Regions from separate parts of the Homo sapiens genome. Here region 1 is linked to region 2. Evidence: promoter capture Hi-C in 16 types of primary human blood cells and fetal thymus (Javierre and others, 2016). All regions are on one chromosome and are shown on one strand. Each heading gives the region's core, a stretch centred on a gene start or on the middle of the fragment in contact. The rest is flanking DNA. Distances are from core to core; before and after follow the strand shown. Region 1 holds the start of MCF2L (MCF.2 cell line derived transforming sequence like). Region 2 holds the start of PROZ (protein Z, vitamin K dependent plasma glycoprotein).

Region 1 (5,969 bases), core at 1-2,500, 190 kb before region 2:
GTGAGCCCCGGGGCTCCCCGACGACCGCGGCGGTGACACGCGGGGCTCCCAGGTGACCCCGGCGGTGCACTCACAGGACTCCCAGGTGACCCGCGGTGGTGACACACCGGGGCGGGCGCGCGCCGCTTCCGCTTCCGCCGAGCCGCCCCCCGCCCCCCGCGGCGCAGCGCGCGCCCCCCTCCCGGTGGCGCGGAACCAATCCTGGGCAGGGAGGCGGCGGCTGGAGGCTGAAAGCGCTGCCGTGGCCCCCTCCCCGCCTCCGCCGCGCCCCCTCCGCACTCGCACGGCCCCACCCGCAGGCGCCCCCCGTGCGGAGGAAGCGGATCTGCCAGGATCATTTTTGTTGTGTCGGAGGATGAGGTTTTGGCTGAGGACTGAAGAGATGGCCTTGGAAGAAATGGTGCAGAGATTAAATGCGGTTTCCAAGCACACGGGTAGGAGGAGCTGCTGGCCGTCAGTGATCTGTGCTTAAGCTTGACATCATGGGCTGAAATGTGGGGAAATGCGTCTGATTTTTGTAAGCCGCCCTCGTGTTCCTTTCTAGCCGTGGTAGCTGTGACATGGGGGGCACTGGTTGGCAGCTGGTGTGTTTTCAGAGGCTGTCGGCGATCGTATGCTGCCCGGGATAGTCAAAATGACTGCACGTTGGTGACACTGGCTCTCTCAGGGTTGCTGGGTCTGCATGCGGAGCCATTTGTGTGTCTGAAGTCTGCCCATCAACCTGCCTGTCCGCAGCCCTCGCAATGGAGAATGCATTGCGAATGGAGAATGATCTGAGCCAAGGGCTTTCAGAGCTTGGGGTTTCAGAGCCAGGGGTAGGGATGGTGAAGCTACCTGGAAGCTCGTTTTGAGGATGAAAAAACCTGGACTAATCAGGTGGTTCTTTTCTTCATTAAATGCAATTTAAACCTAAGACAGATGTTTGAGACGGTATGGGTAAAGAGTGGACTGGACGTTCATTTTCAGTATTAATCGAAATATTACTTCAAATAAGCTTTGAAGAGTAGTTCAGATCGATTCTTTTAGGTGTAAGCAGAGACTGGGCTGACAGCTTGCATCTGGCCGTGGCTTTCAGGCGGTCGCATCTGAGTTCTCAGGCTGTGTTATGCAGAAGGGAGAGGCATCCTTAACTCGTTTTCCTTGAAATGAAGAGGAAATAATGATATATCATTAAAAGTAAGTTGCCAAGTGTTTTGCCTGATGTTGCCATATGTTATGTCATATATGCCATTACTAGTTGTCTAACTAGTACTTGCCTGGGAGATTAAAATGTCAGTTGCTTGGTTTGGGTGTGGTTCTCTTTCTCTGCCCACCCCGATGGATTCTGAGAGTGAACCAGTGATTAAATCAGCATAAGCACCATCGTATGGGATGGTCTAATCAAGATGTTTTTAATGGGGGCTTTTATGATCAAAGCTGCTGGGTTTATTGTATGTGGGTCGAAAGAAAACAAAACCATTTTCATGCCGTCTGCTCCCTGATTCTTAGAGAATCAGCTCTTTTTCTGAAGCTTGAGTGGAGCTTTTCCGTGCAGGGTTTGCAGGGTTTGAGTATGGTGAAGGGCTGCGTGGATGCCAGGTTCACAGGGAGGCTTCCGATCGGCTGTGGGGGTGGAGGAGAAAGCCCCCCTTGCTCTGCATGCCTCTGCGTGCCGTTCGGTGTCAGAGTCACAGAGTGGGAACCGCTCCAGAGGCTGATGTCATTCCCCAGGTTTTTAGGGATTGGGGTTTCTTCATGAGCTCCAAGAGACATGTGCGCATTTTTAATTGGAAAAAGGCTATCTCAGAAGAGCAGCAGTGACACTGTCTGCTCACTGAATGTCGTGCGAGCCGGGCGCTCGGTGTGGGCCATCGTCTCATCTGGAACAGGCAGTGAGATGTGCGTCCTCCCACACATCTGCATTACCGATAATTGCATGCTTCACCAGGACTTTCAAGTCCAGCTTACCAGATATCCTCGGTTATGAGCACCCTGTAGCGTTTAGTTAGGGGAGGTGACCCTGCATCATACTCCACTTACCACCCATTAACACTGGCCTCTTCCTTCAGCACAAACCCATTTTCTGCTCACGCTGTGTGAGGTACTGCTCAGCGGAGGCAAGTTATTAGGTTGAAGGCTGTAAAACCATCATGAGGGGGTTTATGATGCAGTATTGACATGATGCTACCACAGAGTGTACGGGTATGTGGTGCACATTCTCTGGTAGGGGTGAAGGTCAAGGTAAACCTGATCCCCACCTCGGGTTTAAATTCCAAGCACTTCCTCAGGAGAGTTCCCCACCTGCAGCCAAACACTCTTCAGCGGGAGGTCATGGAGCTGCTTCTCCTTCTGGGGTCATGCTAGGATCCGTGCCAGGTAAAAGCTGATGGCAACAGGACACTGATGTGGCGGCTGGTGTAGGTCCTCAGGGCAGTGGCGGGGCTAGGTCACAGCTGAGGGATTGCGTACAGCGGCTGGCCTTAGAGCAGCTGCCTCATTCAGCTGTGCAGAGCTTCACCCTCTGTAGATTCACCCCCAACCCACAGGCATTTTATCTTTGCTGCTGTCCAGGACATGCTGCTGTGTTTTAATTTCAGATTTATGCATTTCTTCTGTCACCTAGAACCTTCATTAGCTAGGCTAATCTGCATGTAAAGGAGGATAATGTGTGCTGTCCATATGGTCTGTGAATCTGTAGCCTTTGACCTTGAGAATTGACATTTTATATACTTTTCTGAACCTGATCTTCAGTAACAAGGCCAGGGGCACTTTCCAGTGGCAACTTCCCCCTGGCCCCCCTTCTATGTGATAGGGCTCATTTTCGTCTGTTTTGGTTTTCTCTTTGGAATTTTAGTCATTGGTGAAAAGGTAGAAGACATTCGAGGGAGCAATGCTATGGATCTAGTTGATTTAAGCATTCGATGAAACAGAACAGTGGTCCTCCAACTACAGCATGTACATGCGTCACCTTGGGGGCTTGTTAAAGCACAGGCTGCTGGGCCCACCCTCAGAGTTTCTGATTCAGGAAGTCTGGGGTAGGGTCTGATAATTGACATTTCTTAAGTTCTTGATGAAGTTCTTCAGGAATCAAACTTGGGGAACTACTGTGGTAGAAGAATCTTTAAATCTAGCCCCACCTTTTCCATTAGTTGACCTAATACTAACTCTTGTCATAGACAGATGATGATAGATGGATAATGCATGGATAAATGAGTGGATGGATGGATGAATGGGTAGATGGGTGGGTGGGTGGATGGATGGGTGGGTGGATGAATGTAGGGGTGGATGAATGGATGTGTGGGTGGGTGGATGGATGGATGGATGGATGATGATGGATGGATGGATGTGTAAGTGGGTGGATGGATGGATGGATGGATGGATGGATGGATAAATGAGTTAGTAGATAGTGGATAAGTGGGTGGATGGATGGGTGGGTGGATGAATGTAAGGGTGGATGAGTGGGTGTGTGGGTGGATGGATGGATGGATGATGATGGATGGATGGATGTGTGAGTGGATGGATGGATGTGTGGGTGGATGGATGGATAAATAGATAAATGGAGGATGATGAATGGGTAGATGGATGGATGAGTGGATGCTTGGACGGATGAGTGGATGGATGGATGGATGAATGAGTTGGTAGATAGATGGATGAGTGGATATATGTATGTAAGGTAGATGGAGGGGTAGGTGGATGGGTGTATGGATGGATGGATGACTGGATGACTGGATAGATGAATGGGTGGGTGGATGGATGGAGGGAGGGAGGGATGGATGCATAGATGAGTGGATGCATGGAGTGGAGGAGTGGATGGATGGATGGAAGGTGGATGGATGGATGAATGGATGGATGGATGGATGAGCAAAAGCTGTGTGCTGCCTCCTGTCCTTAAGCTCTTCCTGGGAAGGGCCTGTGGCCTGAGCAATGGGCTGAGGGACACAGCAGCACGGAGGGGCTTTGGGGGATGAGGGGGCTTCCCAGGACCACCACACAGGCACAGCTGTTCGGCACCCCCCAGTTGCAGGTCTCAGAGGAAAAGCTCTGGGGGGACGCGCCCAGGAGGCAGGGGCACGCATTTCTGTGTGGAATTGAAGAGCTCTCAGTGGAGTAGGTGCGGCTCCCTGGCAAAATGCCACCTGCTTATTAGCCAGCCCAGCGGTTTCTGACGGACGCCTTAGCACTCCCCTCTCACGCCTCTGCCTTCGGCCTCAGTGATTGGCGTCTCCTCAAGGAGCCATGATTTCTTTGTCCATTTTTTAAATGTGCTGAGGCCCTTTAGGAGAAAAACCACGCAGCCAAATGAGGTACGTCTGTGTGGGTTGCTGACTATTTTGTAACATGAAATTTAGGTCTCTAATTAGATAGGTGTGACTATAAAGTACAGAAACATTTAAAAAACAATTAGCTTTCATGGGATGTTGTTATGGATCTTGTTAGTAGGGATTCCGGAGCAGGTTTTAGAGATTTGAGCGGAGGGAGGCTTGTGAGGAAACCGTGAGTCCTCTGAGCATCCTTGGTGTCCTGTGTTGCTGACCTTCTGTGATCTGACGCCACGGCTCAGTGCTTCCCAAGAGCTCCTGAGAACGCAGCGCTCAGGCCTCCCAGCTGGGTGAGTCTGACGCCCTCCATGCGAAGACGGCGCGAGCACGGCTTCACCTGTGGAACCAGGGGCAGACTTATGAGCTCCCGGGGGTTTCAGTTCCGGCCTGCTCTGAGGACACTGGGGGGCCGGCCCTGTGTTTGCTTGGAGCGCCCTTCAGGGAGACCCGTGGCTCCAGGGGCTGGCGCTGAGTGACCACAGGCAAGGTCTCAGGAGTGAGTGATGCCAGGCAGCACCTGAGAAGGGGATGCCTGCGAGGTGTGTTCCGAGTTTCATGGGGACTTGTGTTGGCCACCGCCTCCTGAGTCACTGGCCCCTTTTCACGCTGCACCTGTGCCTTGGGATGGTGGCCGCCTTCCAGCGTCTTCCTGATCTCCGTCTTCAAAGCCGCTCCTGACTCTTCCACTGCCCCCTCTGACCCCATCCCCCACTGTTTCATCAGCTCCCATCCTGGCGCTTCCTCACCTGGTGCCTCATTGCCCGGCACTTCCTTATCTGGCATTTCATCACCTGCCGCTCCACATCACCTGCTGGCTTCCTCCTCCTTTAGTCTTACGTTTGGAGTTCCCTGCATTTGGCTTCCCTAAGGGTAAGACCACCTTCTATAGTGGTGCAAACTCCCCCTCAGAACTAGGGGCACCAGTTCCGCAAAGGCACCCGGGCATGGCTAACCTCTGAGTCTGCAAAGCCCCTTGCGTGGCTGACTTCCAGGTCTGCAAGGGCCCCCGGCGTGGCCAACCTCTGAGTCTGCAAAGCCCCTGGCATGGCCAGCCTCTGAGTCCATGAAGCCCCCGGCGTGGCCAACCTCATTGGATGAGTTTGCTTGGACTTTTGCACCCCTGGCATGCTGCTGTTCTGCTGCTTTTCATAAGCCTGGCCCCTTGGGTGTGGAAAGTGCATGGATTTTAGGGGTTCCACTCATTTTGCAGACGTTCTGGGGAAAATCACATTTGTTGATCATCAATACCAGCTGAATACCAGAGGGTGCACTCCAGAATTAGACCTTCAGGGACTAGTAAATATGAGAGATACTGGAGGATGAACTCCAGAATTAGAACTTTAGGGACTAGTAAATATGAGAGAAGCTGGCTCGGGAGACCTGCTTTCGCCATAATAAAAAACAAGGCATAAGCATCACAATCAGAAGTTCTCCAGGCTTCAGCTGCTCATGAAAGGCATGCTATGTCTGACAAACACATTTTCATGAGTAGAGAATAATTTTAACAGACTCTAGGGTCTACTGACTCATAATTTAACCAAATACAGTTTCTGGAGCCAAGCTGGTTCTGCAGCCTAATTATGGAAAGCTCGGCTGCCTTTTCCGTGTGTTTCGTTTCCTCCGCCGCCTACGACGTGCAGGCAGCACTCTCAACATAGCCCCTTCTTTCAC
Region 2 (5,837 bases), core at 2,025-4,524:
CCAAAACTCACACAAAAAAATGTATTTAAAGGGATTGCAAAGTGGCAGTGCCCCCAGGGGGCAACATAAAGCACAACCCCTTTCAGGAAGAACTCGGCCTTGTCCAGGCTGACATTAGAACATTGGCTGTAGGGAACAGGCCAATTCAGAGATGTTGAAATCTAAAACATAGGTCCCAGAGTTGATTGAACAGGTATTTAAATAGGGACTGCGGCAAGATCTAAGTATTCAATGACCAGGTTCTCCATAGGCTGCTCATTTCAGGTTCCACACAAAGTTGTGGGGTCAGTTGATTTAAGCTGGGGACCCCCACAGAGGACACCCCAACATCTGAAGGACACGACAAAGACCCCAAAGGAAGGAAGATTCTCCTCAGGTATACAGAAGGAAAGTAAACCAGTCAATGGAAAAAGTGTCCCAATGTTGGTTGGTTTGTTTTTCAGAACAGAAGAGGGTGACAGAAGAACGATTATTCATATGAGAGATGAGGAAGATGAGTAGAACGAGGTGAATCTTAATGTTTGGACAATTTATTATTGTAGAATTTTTGGTCCAAAGGTGGTATCTTTGAGAAGGCAGATGAGAAAATTAAATCACCACATACAACACGGTCAGTCCACGTACAACACAGTCAATCACAGCTGTGGCCTCGATGTTGATGCCTTCCTGTATTAGTCTGTTCTCATGTCACTGTGAAGAAATACTTGAGACTAGGTAATTTATAAAGAAAAGCGGTTTAATGAACTCACAGTTCCACATGGCTGGGGAGGCCTCAGGAAACATAATCATGGCAAGCAGGCACCTCTTCACAGGGTGGCAGGAGAGAGAAAATGTGTGTCAATCACAGGGGGAAGCCCCTTATAAAATCATTAGCTCTTGTGAGAATGCACTCACTATCACAAGAACCACCTCCATGATTCAATCACCTCCACCTGGTCCTGCCCTTGACCTGTGGGGATTATTACAATTCAAGGTGAGATTTGGTTGGGGACACAGAGCCAAACCATCCCCCAAAACTCACGTTGAAACCTAACCCCCTGTGCAATAGTACTAGGAGGTGGGGCCTCTGGGAGGCACTCTGCCTTCATGGATGGATGACTGCCCTCCCAAAAGAGGCTCCAGGGAGCACCCACATTCCTCCCTTCCACCATCCAAGGACACGTCTATGAATCATGGGCCGTCACCAGACACTGAGTCTACTGGAGCCTTGATCTTGGACTTCCCATCCTCCAGAACTGTGAGCACTACGTTTCTGTTTATCGTAAATTACCCACTCTAAGGTGTTTTGTTACAGCAGCCCCAACAGACTAAAATGGTCCATGAGGGAAGAGGTTGTAGCTCAGATACCCATGTCAGGCATATAGGATGTGCTTAATTAACACTTATTGATCGAATGTGTATGTCCCTGTCTGCCTTTCCATTTTTAGGCAGCTATTGATGGTTTTTAAACTATCCAGCAGAAGTATTTTTAATGTAAATTTCCATGTGGGAATACATTTTCACACAAAAAAAGGCACCTTTTCTTAAGTGAAGGCCACGTAGATTGCCAGGCTGGTGCAATTCACCCAAGAGCTATCCTATACAATCAACTTCTGGCTTTCAAATTATTTTAACTCACTCACTAAAGATAAACTTTATTTTCTTTTCCCAGCTTTTTAAAGCAAACTTCACAACTTCAGTGTATTTGCGGGCATGCCCTCTTAATCAAGGGTGTCAGCTTCTTAGTTTTCTTCTGTTCCCACTTTAACAAAATTGTATTTAGAATCCTTTCATTGAGTTTTGCCACCTTTGAGTGTCATTCAATCGAACAATATCTATATGCTGACAATGCTGTCATTTCATCTGTTACCACCTGAATCTCCACTGTGAGTCCCAGCTTCTCGGATGCCCACTCCTGTCTCCACCTGGACATCCCACAGACACCTCAAATTTGCCAAACCTCGCTTCCCTCTGCCCTCCTGGAGCTTGGCCGTCTCAGCACACGCACTGCCATCCTCCCAATCGCTCAGCCCAAACCTTGGAGCCGTGCTGCCCGACACAATTCATCATGAATCCCATCAGCTTTCCCTTCCTGAAGCATCCAGACTGCAAACGTGCTTCCTGCTGCATGGCTGCACCCTCACCCCCTCCTGGACTAGCCGGCAGCCTCCCTTTTGACTTCTCTGGAATGTTCTGTTCTCCACACAGCAGCCCAGTGATCCCTTCAGAGCACAAATCTTTCCATGTCAATTCCTGTTCCCTCCAATATCTTCCCAACACAGTGAAAATGAAACACCAGGTTCTTACCTCAGGCTTCAAGGGCTGATATGGTTTGGCTGTGTCCCCACCGAAATCTTATCTTGAATTGTAATCCCCATAGTCCCCACGTGTCCTGGGAGGGACCCGGTGGGAGGTAATTGAATCATGGGGGTGGTTTCCACCATGCTATTCTTGGGATAGTGAGTGAGTCTCAAGAGATTTGATGGTTTTATAAGGATCTGGCATTTCCCCTGCTTCAGTCATTCTCTCTGCTGCCACCCTGTGAAGAGGTGCCTTCTGCCATAATTATAAGTTTCCTGAGGCCTCCCCAGCCATGTGGAACTGGGAGTCAACTAAACCTCTTTTCTTAAATTACCCAGTCTTGGCTATTTCTTCATAACAGTGTAAGAAGGGACTAATACACAGGGCCTACATCTGAAAGCAGCAAACGACAACCCTGGGGCCAAATCTGGCCCCTTAATAGCTCTTATAAATAAAGCTTTATTGGCACACAGCCAAGTGTTCATTCATGATTGTCTATGCTGCCTCTGCTACAATGGTGCTGAGCTGTAGTGACAGACACTATTTGGCCCTTCCCCGCTTTCTCCCTCCTCCCTCCCTCCCTTCCTTTTCTCCCCTTCCTTCTTTCCATCCTCCTGCTTTCCCTCCCTCACTCCCTCCTGTCTCTTTCCCTCGTTCTTTTCTGTGTATTCCACACACACCTAGAACGTAAGCTGCATGTGACTTTGTCTGTCCCGCCCAGTGCTGTGTCCCCAGGGCCTATCTCACCTCCATTGACCACACACGGGCATGGGTGCCACCTTCCACCTTGCACCTGCTGCCTTTACCTTCTGTTCTCTGTCTCCCTAAATATCTCCCAGGGTCCTCTGAGCCTTCACCGTTCATTTCTCTGCCTGGCCTCAAACAGAAAACGTCAGGAGGGAAGCACACAGCTGCACAGGTCGTGCCCCGAGGCTCCTGCTGCCGGCACCTCCCCCAGCCTGGACTTTGGCTGTGTTTGTAGCCCTGTCCCAGCGCTCCGGGTGGGAATGGCAGGCTGCGTCCCACTGCTCCAGGGCCTGGTCCTGGTCCTCGCCCTCCATCGTGTGGAGCCCTCAGGTAGGCATCTGGCTTACCTGTCTGTTGTGCCTGTGCTGTGTCTTTCTTGACTCGGTCCATGGTGGATTTGTAGATGAGGCTTTTTCCAGGAGCCAGAGGAGCCCTGAGTGCCCAGACTAGTCTTAATTCCCCTGAAAAAGCTGTTTGGATCTTTATCATTTGGTGACAAGTATTTGGGACATGATAGTGTCACTTGGGGTCCTCCCAAGAGATGCCCAAATGGAAAGAAGCCTGTGTGCAGGGGATTCAGCCGGGAAAGGCCGGGGAGAGGGGAGGGGGAAAGGGGGAGGAGTGGGGGGAGGCCTGGGTTGGGCATTGGACGAGGGGAGGGGGTGGGGCAGGCTGAGCCCAGACTGCAATGTGGGCAGAGAGAGCCTTGGCCAGGCCAGCCAGGAATGCCCAGTCTTGAGTCAGGAGACATAGCCAGGGAGCAGCCACCCTGCCTGCCTGCCACCCTTCTACCACCAGCCACTTCACTGAAGGAACGACATGGACTCCATTCTGACTCTGCCTGCACAGGCGTCCAGGAAAGCTGCAAGTCAAAACACCCAGCATCCCCGCTGGCCCCATGGTCTCCCGCTGGCCCCATGGTCTCCCACCCTGAGAGGGTGATCCCCCCGCCCTGCCCTGCCCAGCACTTACCGTAGCCGGACTTAGCTGAGCCCCCCCTGCTGTAACCCTCAGCACCGAGAGAAAAGGAGGGAGGATGGGAAGGGCCTGGGCTTTGACCCTCCCGGAGAGGGAGAGAACATGCTTTGGGACCCTCAGGTGGGAAGAGGCTCCAGAGACCACTGCCGCGGGTCAACTCATTTGCCTTCTCCTCCTGGAAATCGCAGAGCCTGCTGCAATGTATAAGTTTCTTCTTTATGTGTTTTATCAAGATGTTAAATGCTGCGCACAGAGGCAGCACAGGAGCTGATGGCTCTTGGTCCCCAGTTCTCAGTACGGGGACCTTTGACCCCAGCTCAGCCTTCCTTCGCACTCAGACCCAAAACCCAGTTGGAGCCCTCCCTCCTCCACTTTCCTGACTGAGGCCCGTGGCCTCTCTGCAGAACCTTAGTGTATCCGCACTGATCCTGGGGCTGATCCATTCGCCCAGAGGATGAAGTGCTTGCCTACCTCGGGGGAGGGAGTAGCGGGGTGGCCCTGAGGCCCTCGCAGGCTGAGAGCCTGTGGAGACGGACGGGGCTGGGGCTGGCGGCCGGCCGGGGAGGAAGCCAGGCAGCTCTGGAAAGCAGGGCCCTCGGTGCTCCCAGTCACCTGCCTTCTTGTCTCGTCTGTAGTATTTCTCCCGGCCTCCAAAGCAAACGACGTTCTGGTGAGGTGGAAGCGTGCGGGCTCCTATCTTCTGGAAGAACTCTTCGAGGGAAACTTGGAAAAAGAATGTTATGAAGAAATCTGTGTCTATGAAGAAGCAAGAGAAGTGTTTGAAAATGAAGTAGTCACTGTATGTACCCCCACCACAAACCACAGGCCTCCTCATTATTTAGACTTCTGCTGGCCCAGGGAGCATCATTTCTCAGAGATTAAGCTTAATTAATTAGCCTATTTACTTACCGATGAGGTTGACACAATCCCAGTTTTACAGATGAGGAAACAATTTAGAGAATCGACTTAATCCACCTTTCCCTACAGCAGTGAGTGGGGCTGGAAGTCAGCTCAGAGCCCACTGGACTCATTTCTTCAGGTCAGGCAAGGCCCACACACTGATCAGACACCCAGCATACATTTTCTTTCTAGGCTTCAAGTCTGAATAATTCTCCTAATTTTAGATACTCCTACCCCAAACTAAGTGTCCCCACTCCCTACAGAGGTATATATCTTTAAAATTCAACTCGGTTTATAAAAAGCGAAAAGGTGATGTGACTTCTATATCATGTGCTTTTGTGGAGGGTGGCGTGGAGATTGGCCCTAGAAGGGAAGGGCCACGTTAGGGGCTGTGGGTGGTGGGTTTGTGCCATGTCATAGACTCTGGCCTTCCTCAAATAGGTGGTGGTAAGCACATGTTGAGTAATATATCTTACAGATACATTTAGTTACTATACATTTAACATAAACAAATAGGCTGTAAAACAGGAAAATTGTGCATTGTTTCAACCACTATTGTCCTATTAAGTGAATAAAATCAACATTTTCTTACCTTCAAGTTCATCTACAGGAAAGAATATAGAAAAACAAATATCCCATTTGTAACATTTTTATGTTTTAACTCTAAAGGATGAATTCTGGAGACGATATAAGGGTAAGTGGTTTCCTTCGTCTCCTCAGAAGTATTAATTCCTCGGGATGAGGTGCGTGGGTGGGCTTAGGACGCTTCACGACCCCAGCTCAGCGGATGCCAAGCCTCTGGCTCCAGGACCCACGGTGTCTCTCCAGGGAAGGGCAGCTCCGACTCTCCCCAAGGACCAGGTCAGGAAGCCCCCGGGCTCTGCCACCAGGGCCACAGGCAGTGCCTGGTTTGTCTTGCCCAGTGTCTGGGT

Evidence for each region. Contacts are between HindIII fragments. The CHiCAGO score rates a contact against its expected background, and 5 or more counts as called.
Region 1: a contact is called between a fragment that was not itself captured here and the fragment with the promoter of PROZ in region 2, in 2 of 17 cell types (total CD8 T cells and naive CD8 T cells). The highest score is 6.2, in total CD8 T cells.

What each region holds. Positions count from the first base shown.
Region 1 is chr13:112,969,025-112,974,993 of GRCh38, forward strand. MCF2L (MCF.2 cell line derived transforming sequence like) reads left to right here and starts at 190. Exons shown (of 30, transcript NM_001112732.3): 1 at 190-434. The coding sequence starts at 356. RefSeq lists a silencer at 66-125. The HindIII fragment of the contact is 516 bases long and covers 993-1,508 here.
Region 2 is chr13:113,155,374-113,161,210 of GRCh38, forward strand. PROZ (protein Z, vitamin K dependent plasma glycoprotein) reads left to right here and starts at 3,275. Exons shown (of 8, transcript NM_003891.3): 1 at 3,275-3,357; 2 at 4,641-4,804; 3 at 5,575-5,599. The coding sequence starts at 3,288. It overlaps LOC124903216 (a long non-coding RNA gene), which reads left to right. Exons shown (of 4, transcript XR_007063880.1): 3 at 444-507; 4 at 1,157-1,237. RefSeq lists enhancers at 2,758-3,335, 3,912-4,489. The HindIII fragment of the contact is 2,151 bases long and covers 2,736-4,886 here.